Linked DNA regions of Homo sapiens: region 2 is linked to region 1. Evidence: promoter capture Hi-C in 16 types of primary human blood cells and fetal thymus (Javierre and others, 2016). All regions are on one chromosome and are shown on one strand. The core of a region is centred on a gene start or on the middle of the fragment in contact, and the rest is flanking DNA. Distances in the headings are between cores, read along the strand shown. Region 1 holds the start of CAPZB (capping actin protein of muscle Z-line subunit beta). Region 2 overlaps UBR4 (ubiquitin protein ligase E3 component n-recognin 4).

What was found. Contacts are between HindIII fragments. The CHiCAGO score rates a contact against its expected background, and 5 or more counts as called.
Region 2: a contact is called between a fragment that was not itself captured here and the fragment with the promoter of CAPZB in region 1, in 1 of 17 cell types (total CD4 T cells). The highest score is 5.2, in total CD4 T cells.

Annotation. Positions count from the first base shown.
Region 1 is chr1:19,482,992-19,487,750 of GRCh38, reverse strand. CAPZB (capping actin protein of muscle Z-line subunit beta) reads left to right here and starts at 2,212. Exons shown (of 9, transcript NM_004930.5): 1 at 2,212-2,315. The coding sequence starts at 2,313. It also overlaps a transcript of LOC105376819 not described here. RefSeq lists enhancers at 1-376, 2,410-2,918, 2,919-3,426, 3,427-3,935 and silencers at 1,636-2,365, 2,396-2,505. The HindIII fragment of the contact is 2,873 bases long and covers 1,020-3,892 here.
Region 2 is chr1:19,189,964-19,194,722 of GRCh38, reverse strand. It overlaps UBR4 (ubiquitin protein ligase E3 component n-recognin 4), which reads left to right. Exons shown (of 106, transcript NM_020765.3): 9 at 1,166-1,290; 10 at 2,183-2,242; 11 at 2,345-2,535. Among named protein-coding and RNA genes, the nearest start is that of UBR4, 18 kb to the left of the region's middle. The HindIII fragment of the contact is 9,242 bases long and covers 1-4,759 here.

The DNA of each region.
Region 1 (4,759 bases), core at 963-3,462:
TTACCCTTGCTGCTCCTTGTGCCTCTGCTATCCACACGGCTTGCTCCCTCCTTCCCTTCAGCTATATGATCAAATATTGCTAAGTTAGGCCTTGCCTGCCTACCTGTTTGCTTGAATTTTTCTCATTATCTCTAATCACTACCCGACACTGTATTATTATTATTACTATTTTATTTTTGAGACGAAGTCTCTCTCTGTCGCCCAGGCTGGAGTGCAGTGGCGCGATCTCGGCTCACTGCAAGCTCCGCCTCCCGGGTTCACGCCATTCTCCTGCCTCAGCCTCCCGAGTAGCTGGGACTACAGGCGCCCGTCATCCCGCCCAGCTAATTTTTTTATTTTTAGTAGAGACGGAGTTTCACCGTGTTAGCCAAGATGGTCTCGATCTCCTGACCCCGTGATCCGCCCACCTCGGCCTCCCAAAGTGCTAGGATTACAGGCGTGAGCCACTGCGCCCGGCCTCGGCTAACTTTGTGTATTTTTAGTAGACGGGGTTTCGCCATGTTAGCCAGGCTGATCTGGAACTCCTGACTTCAAGCGATTGCCCACCTCGGCCTCCCAAAGTGCTGAGATTACAGGCGTGAGCCACTGTGCCTGGCCTTGGACACTGTATTTGCCTGGTGGCCGACTGTCTCCCTGACAACACTCAAGCTCCACAACCATGTGGGTTATTTTGCTCATTGCTCTATTTCCAGAGCCTAGCACAGTGCTTGGCACATAGCAGATGCTCAATAAGTATCTACTGCGTGTGCCATTCTCTTCCTTGAATTTCTGTAATACTCATCCAATACCATTCTTGCGAGACTTACCCGTATGCTTTTTCTGCCAGTGGCTACCTGTGAAAGCTTCGACTTGTCTATGAGCTCCCTGAGGACAGGGCCTGGCTCAGGGAAACAATTCCTGTCATCTGTGCAGTTTACCATCCCCTCACAGATCGCCTAATTTGATTTAACCAAAGCAAACAGGCCACGGAGGCAGATATTGTTAGCAATCCAGATCTCTCCTGCTACCTAGACTAAGCTTAACAAATATTTGATTGAGAGAGAGAGAGAGAGATTGGGAGAGAGAAACTTGAGTCACTTTGTGGAGCGAGGAAGCCCTTCTGGGCTAATGGAATGGTTCTCTGTAGCACATTCAACAGTACTCATAACAGCTAGCATTTGTTGAACTTAATTTTTTTTCTTTTGAGACAGAGTCTTGCTCTGTCGCCAGGCTGGGGTGCAGTGGCGCGATCTTGGCTCACTGCAACCTCTGCCCCCGGGTTCAAACGATTCTCCTGCCTCAGCCTCCCGAGTAGCTGGGACTATAGGAGCGAACCACCACGCCCAGCTAATTTTTGTATTTTTAGTAGAAACGGGGTTTCACCATGTTGGCCAGGATGGTCTCGATCTCTTGACCTTGGCCCGCCTCGGCCTTCCAAAGTGCTGGGATTACAGGCGTGAGCCACCGCGGCCGACCTGTTGAACTTAATTTTCTAATCTCTACCTGTGTCATCCTCACAGATATTCTGTCTGCAGCTATACCGGCAGGGATCTTTATGTCTTATCTGTTATCTTCCGGTGCCTAAACAAGGCCTGGCACATAGTAGGTGCTGAATAAATGGCGTCAGCCCGAGGCTCCTCAATTCGTGCCCGGGCTCAGGTGCAGCGCGGCGCTCCAGATCCTGCCGTAGCGAGCGGCAGCGCTGGGCTCCTGCCCCGCTCCCGGCGCGCTCCCCCAGTGCTGGGTTGGGCTGGGTTGGGCTGGGCCGGGCCGGTCCGCGCTCGGCGGCAGTTCCGGGTGCGCCGCAGGAGTGAGCGCGTGCACGGGGTGGGGCGCGGAGGGCCGGTCCCCTCCCAGCCGCGGTGCCTTCCGCATCCCCGCCCGCGGGGACTGTGGGGTGCGGTTCCCTCGCCGCCACTCGCTGCTGCAGGCCCAGAGTCGGGGACTGGACCTCAGACAGCCAGGAGACCTTTCCGCCCCGGCCCGCAACCCGTGCCGGGGACTCCCGGCAGCCGCGCCGCGCAGCGCCGCGCCCCGCCCCGCCTCGCAGGCCCCGCCCCCGCACCCCGTCGGCGCCCGCCTCTCGCGCCGCTCTCCATACTTGGCGATCGCCGCAGCCCCGCGCGCTCATTGGCCGCGAGCTGGCGGCGTGGGGGGCGGGCCCGGGCCGGGCCGGGGCGGGGAAGGAAGGTGGCGGCGGCCCGGCGCGGGGGGAGGGGGGTGCTGACCCGGATGTTCACTCCTGGGCACCCGGGGAAGTGGAAGCGCCGGGCCCTGCTGCGGGGGGGAGAGCCACTGACGCCGGGACCGGGACCGCCGCCGCCGCCGCCACCATGGTAAAGGCCGCACGGCCCCCTCCCCGGCCCGGGGGCCCCTCCGGAGCTCGCGTCCCCCTCCCCCTGCCCATCCCTGGCCTGGGACGGGTGGCTTCCCGGGGTGGGGGAGGGGCGGGGTCCCGGACCCTGGGTGGACCCGGTCCCTCCCCGCCCAGGAGGGTGCCGCCGGCGCGGACGACTTGGGTGGCAGTGACCCTGCCCCCGCTCCCAGCCCCCGCCCTTGGCGCAAGCTGGAGTCCCACTCACTACCTCTGTGTTCAGGCTGGTCTCTCCCATAGCCCAGGCTAGACCCTCCCTCCCGAACCGTGTCCCCAGCCAGGCACCCCCTCGGTGACCCTGGCGTGGGCCCCCTTCCTCCCCCGGTCTAGGGCTAGGTCTGCTTTCCCCCGTCTCTCCGGCCCAGGCTAGGCCGTCGTTTCTCCCTGCCATGGCCCAGGCTAGGCCGCTGCCTCCCTCTGTCCCTCCCCCTTTGCCTTCTCCATGGCCTCAGGCTGGACCCCGGTCAGCCCCTTCTGCAGCGGCCTAGGTTTGCTTCCCCTCTTCTCCGTGGCCTCAGCCTGAATCTCCTCTTCTCTCTGTGAACTTAAATCTGGACCTCCTCTTCTCCGCCCATGGCCCCCGTCTGGACCTCACTGCCCCCTCCCCACCATGATCCCCTTCCCTGGACTTTTCGCCACTCCTAGCGTAACCTGCGTCAGCCCCGCTCGGTCCCCGCCCTGAGCCTCTCATCAGGGTCCTGCCCCCTGCCTGGTGCACGACCCAGGGTCCCCTTCCCTGTACCTGGGGCGCGCCTTCTTTGCAGCCTTTGGGGAGCGAGGGGAGCTCTCCATCAGGGATGGGGTGGTCCCGGTGCTGTGCCTTCTCAGTTGCCGCTTCTAGGGAGGCCGCCTAGGAGCCAGCGAGGGAAGGGCGGGCATCGGTGTGCCCAGAAGGCAGCGCGCTGCTCTGCGGGCCCTTCTCGAGGCTGCCGCCGTGGGTGCTGTGCGTGCGAAGCATTCTGCAGGGCAGGCCGGGGTCCACGGCGCCCGGGCCTGAGTGGGAGCCGAGGGGCGAGGATGGGTGGCCCACAGGACAAGGATGAACGCACAATCGCCCTTGTGAGGCCGTGGCCTTGGGGGGCCACCAGGCCCTGGATCCAGCATATGGCCTGGACACGATGCACCCAAGCAGGCGCAGCCTCCCCTTCCCTCTGAACTGTCAGCTTGCAAGGGTTGGAACTGCTGATTATGGAAGTCCCTCGGATCAGGTGAGCAGAACGCCTAGGGAGAGTGCTGGCTCCGCTCGTGGTGTTTGTTTTGGTAAAGAAGGCAGATGCTATCCAGACTTTTGAGGAACCTGGGGTTTCACATAGGCCCCCACAGATAGACCTGCCCTCCTGCCACTTGACCCTTCTGCAGGACAGGCCCAGCACTTAGGTTGGAAGGGCCAGAGAACTTCTTCCTGACAGGATCAAGGGATTTTTGGAGCATGTTTGTATGTGGACTTTGGGCCTCAAAGTGTTTTGAGGACCATGGTTCCTTGTTTAGTCAAGGGATGTTGCTGCTGAACGAGGGTGAGTAGTTGAGATGGGTTAAGCTTTCTTTTGATGCCTTCCTGTATGCTGATTAAAAACATGGGCAATGCCACTTTTAAGGCCTTCGGATTTGTCCAGTAACTTTGGCTGAAAACTCCTTGTTTGGGGAGGTGGGCCTGGCCCCAGGCCTTGATGGAGAACGACTTCTCCAGGGCAGTGGTGGGTGAGGACTTTGAAAGTGGGCTGAAGTTTCCTGAGTGTGCACTCAGGACAAAGTATAAGGCAGGAAGCAGCGATTCTCGCCAGGTGATGGGAAAGTGCCTCAGTCCCCCAGGAGGAGCACATGACACCTGAAGCTTCTCAGGAGTCTTGTACTCAGCTCTCATCTGAAAAGGCTGGAAAGGGTGGAGGAACTGTCTGCCAGTCACTGTGGTGTGCTTCACCTGTACAAGCTGTTTTCATCCACAGGAAGCCCTTCTGGGGCTGTCCCCATTTTATAGATGAGGCAGCTGAGGCTCAGGAGGTGGAGTGACTTATTCAGGGTGTTGCTCAGCCAGTGGAGGAACCACTGTTGGTCAGTGGAAGCCCATCTGGCAGGCTCTAAACTGTTCTTCCCATTGTACCAAGCTGCTTGTATGTCAGAAGGTTTAATGATACCGTTTGAAAAACATAAAATGGGATATTCAAACATGGCAAGGGGGGAGGAGCAGTATTTATTGCCCATGTATTGTATTTTAGATCCTTTGTATAGGAAATCATGTTTATAGTGAAATAGCTGTATGGTGATACAGGCATATTTAGCATGGGCCAGAATGAGCTCTTGGAGGGCAGAGATTTGTGTCTTGTGTTTTCCGCAGCTGTATCCGTGGGGCCTAGAACAGCACCTGGCGTTGGAAGAAACCACTTGGAATGTTCTCTTTGGCATGTGTCT
Region 2 (4,759 bases), core at 1,478-3,977, 290 kb after region 1:
TCAAGTGATTCTCCTGCTTCAGCTTCCCGAGTAGCTGGGATTATAGGCGCCTGCCACTTCGCCTGGCTAATTTTTGCATTTTTAGTAGAGATGGGGTTTCACCATGTTGGCGAGGCTGGTCTCAGACTCCTGACCTCAGGTGATCCACCCACCTGGGCCTCCCAAAGTGCTAAGATTACAGGCGTGAGCCACCGCGCCCAGCCTTAATTATTTATTTTTATTACTTTTTTAAAAAGAGACAGAATCTTAGTGTTTCAGCCAGGTGGGAGTGCAGTGGAGCGATTATAACTCACTGTAGCCTCAAACCCCTGGGTGCAAATGATCCTCCCACATCAACCTCCTGAGTAACTGGAACTAGAGGCATGCACCACCACACCTGGCTTAGATTTTATTTTTAAAGCAATTTTAGGTTCATAGAGTTCGCATATCCTCCTTCTCCCTTATAGCTAGTTTCTCTTATCAGTAATACTTTTAATTAGTACGGTGGATTTATTATTGATGAACCAGTATTGATATATTATTATTAACTGAAGTCCATAGTTTACATTGGGGTTTCATTTTTGTGTTGTACAGGTCTATGGGTTTTGACAAATGTATAGTGTCATGTGTCCATGATTACCATATTGTACAAAATAGTTTCACTATCCTAAAAATCCCCTTTGCCTATTCATTCCTTATCCCATCCCTCGACCCCTGGTAACACCACTGATCTCCACTGTCTCTCTAGTTTTACCTTTTCTAGAATGTCATGTAGTTGGAATCATACAATAAGCAGGATTTTCAGATTGGCTTCTTTCTCTTAGCAGTATGCATATAGTTCCTCCATGTCTTCTCATGGCTTAATAGTCCATTTCTTTTTATTGCTGAATTAATATTCCATTGTATGGATATACCACAGTTTGTTTCTGTGTTCTCCTATTGAAGGACATTCGTGTGTAGTGTGTGTGTGTGTGCGCGCGTGTAAGTTTTCAGCTTATTTGGATAAATACCTAGGAGTCTGGTTACTGAATTGTATGGTAAACCTATTTAGTCTTGCTCTTAATGGCATTTATTTTAAGTAGTCAAATCATGGAATTGCTTGTGGGTGGGGTGTGCTTTTGTGTTTCAGCTTTGGTGGATTCTTGGATGCACTCCATGGCTGAGACCTGTGCATCTTCTTTTTCAGGTGTGAGTGTGGCAACGTGCATGGCCATCCTCCATGTGGGTAGTGCCCAGCAAGTGCGGACAGGGTCCACGAGCTCCAAAGAAGATGACTATGAAAGTGACGCAGCTACAATTGTCCAGAAATGTGTAAGCCAAAGATCTGGGGATAAGGGAACCTTGATTGTTCAAATGAGGGAGTATGGCCAGTTCCACTTTCTTCCATGATAGAAGAAAGAACTTAGAGTATTCTCCACACTACTTTCCCTGGGCACTAGTAGGTCTAAGAGGTAGGCATCCAGCTTGTTGATTTGGTATATTGGTTGATCTGGTATATTGTTTCCCTATCTCTGTAGAACACACTTGAAAGATTAGCCATTAATTCAGCAAATATGTTTGAGGGCCTACTGTGTGTCAGTGTACTTTTAGGGAAATGCAGTAAACAGGAAAATTTCCGATAGTGATTAAGTGCGCTGAAACAATACATTGTGATTGATAGTGATCTGGGCCGGGTGTGGTGACTCACACCTGTGATCCCAGTACTTTGGGAGGTGGGTGGATCACCTGAGGTTAGGAGTTCAAAACCAGCCTGGCCAGCATGGTGAAACCCTGTCTCTACTAAAAATACAAAAATTAGCTGGGTGTGGTGGTGCATGCCTGTAATCCCCGCTACTCTGGAGGCTGAGGCAGGAGAATCGCTTGAGCCTGGGAGGTGGAGGTTTCAGTGAGCCGGGATCACGCCATCGTACTCCAGCCTGGACAACAAGAGTGAAACTCCGTCTTAAAAAAAAAAAAGTGATCTGATGTGGAGCTGGGCATGCTGCTTTTGATTCGGAGGAGGGATGGCTTCTGAGAAGGTGACATTTGATCCAAATGAAAAGAGGGAGTCAGCTCCATGTGAAGGTCAAGGAAAGTACGATGGAATGTATCATTGAAAAGAGGATATTGAACTCTTCAAGTTAAATTGTTTGGGTAGGATTTAGCATTTATGATGAAATCTGTCAGCTTGTTCAGATTTTTGTGTCTGTTTGATATTGTACAGCTCGAAATCTATGACATGATTGGACAAGCAATCAGCAGTTCTCGCCGGGCTGGTGGTGAGGTAAGAAGCGTATCTGTCTCTGCTGCATACTTCCTATCTTGTCCTCTCTGAGATGTAAATATCTCTATGATTATGTTTTTTATTTTGTGCCTTTCACAACAGCACTATCAGAATTTCCAATTGCTGGGTGCTTGGTGCTTGTTAAACAGCCTTTTCCTCATACTGAACCTCAGTCCTACTGCGTTGGCTGATAAGGGGAAAGAGAAGGACCCACTGGCTGCCCTCCGAGTCAGAGACATCCTTTCTCGTACTAAAGAGGGAGTGGGCTCCCCTAAACTGGGGCCTGGAAAAGGGTATGTGTCTACTTGATTATAACTTATATTTTGTTTTATTTCGCTAACATTTTATATTTACAGGGAGCTAGTATGACTTCATATCAATAGGAAAATTTGCCTTCCTACCTGGCTTGAATTTAGCAACTAAGATAATGATCATGACCTGTTATCTCCACAGCATAGCTTTGTGATTTTTAGATAAGTCACTCATTCTCTTTGATTCTATTTCCTCATCTGTCAAAGGGGAAAAATATCTGTGCAATGTGTATTTCAGGAATTTTATGAAGTTCACATCAGAAAAACATGTTTCTGTCTTGTAAAGCGGGCTTGTTTGACTTGGAGTTGAGTACTTGCGTGTATAACCTGTAAGATGAGAATATTGTCAGGGCCTCCTGGTTTGCTTCCTGTAATATTTGCTGTTGTTTTGATGAACTCTGAAAGAAGAGATATGACCAATGTACTGTTCAGGTTTCGTTTTCTAAGCCCAGGTGTTTCTGGATTTTATTTTTTCATTCAATCCCTATTATATACTAGGCCCTATTCTAGGCATTGAGGATATAGCACTAAACAAAGTGATGTCCTTGCCTTTATGGAGTTTATTTTATATCTGGAGAAACAATGAACAAATCTATTAACGAGTAGATTATAGATAATCATATATAAACGTTGTGAAGAAAAAGATGTCAGAGCGAGGGGCCGGAGAGTCATAGGGGCTTTTATTATTTTATTTTTTTTGAGACATAGTCTCCCTCTGTTGCCCATGCTGGAGTGCAGTGGCGTGATTGTGGCTCACTGTAACCTCCACTTCGCGGGTTCAAGCAATTCTCATGCCTCAGCCTCCCAAGTAGCTGGGATTACAGGTGAATGCCACCACACCCAGCTAATTTTTGTATTTTTAGTAGAGACGGGGTTTCACCATGTTGGCCAGGCAGGGTCTCGAACTCTTGGCCTCAAATGATCTGCCCACCTCAGCCTCCTAGAGTGCTGGGATTACAGGTGTGAGCCACTGCGCCCAGCCCAGGGCTATTATTTTAGTTATTTAGTTATTTAGGATGATCCAGAAAGGGCTCCAAAGACATGATGTAGAGACCATATGTGAAGTGACAGAGCTATGTAAGTATTTGGGGTAGAATTGTTCAGGTTTGAGATGGAAGTATCATTGACATTTCTGAGGGTCAGCAAGGTCAGTGTGGCTAAAATGGAGAAACCAAGGTGGGAGAGTGGTAGAAAATTAGGTCAGACAGGTAGCCAGTGGCCAGATCACCTAGGGCCAAGTGCAGTCAGTAACTGTTAGAAGGATTAAACAAGGGAGAGATGCAACCTGATTTATTGGTGATCTGAGGATAGACTGCAGGGCATAAGATAAGAAGGAGGGAGAACAGTTAGCAGCGAATGCATCATTCCAGATGAGATATGAAGGTGACTTGGATAGGGTGGTGCGGCAAAGGCTGAGAAAAGAGGCCGAATTGAAATATATTTGGAAGGTACAGCTGGCAGGATTTACTGATGGCTTGTATGTTGGGTGTGAAAAAGATGACATCACAATTTTTTGGCTTGAGGTCACTGGGTTGTATAATTTACTGATACTGGGAACACTTGTTTAGGAGTGGGTTGAATGGGAAGATGGGGAAGAAATAAAAACGTAATATTGGCCATGCTGAGTGTAAGATGACTGTCAGACCTCTATGTGAGATGTTGAGTGGGCAGTTGGATATGTGAGTCTGGAGTTTCAGGAAGAGGTCACAGCCTGGACTGCATTAACAAATTACCCTCTGAGCATCTTCTGTGTCCCAGGCTCTGTGTTAGTTCTGGATTGCTGTGATGAACATAAAAATGGACATATTCTCAAGAGACATGAACTAGGTATCCATACAAATATATATATATATATATTTTTTTTTTTTTTTTTTTTTGAGGCAGAGTCTCGCTCTGTTGCCCAGGCTGGAGTGTAGTGGTGCAGTCTCAACTCACTGCAACCTCTGCCTCCCAGGTTCAAGCAATTCTTGTGCCTCAGCCACCAGGTAGCTAGGATTACAGGTGTGTACCACCATGCCCAGCTGATTTTTTTTTTTTGTATTTTTAATAGAGTTGGGGTTTCGCCATGTTGGCTAGGCTGGTATTGAACTCCTGGCCTCAAGTGATCTGCCTGCCTCAGCATCCCAAAGTGCTGGGATTACAGGCATGAGCCAATCTGCCTGGCCATGTCAAATTGTATCTAGAGAGTATTAGAACAGGGGCATTT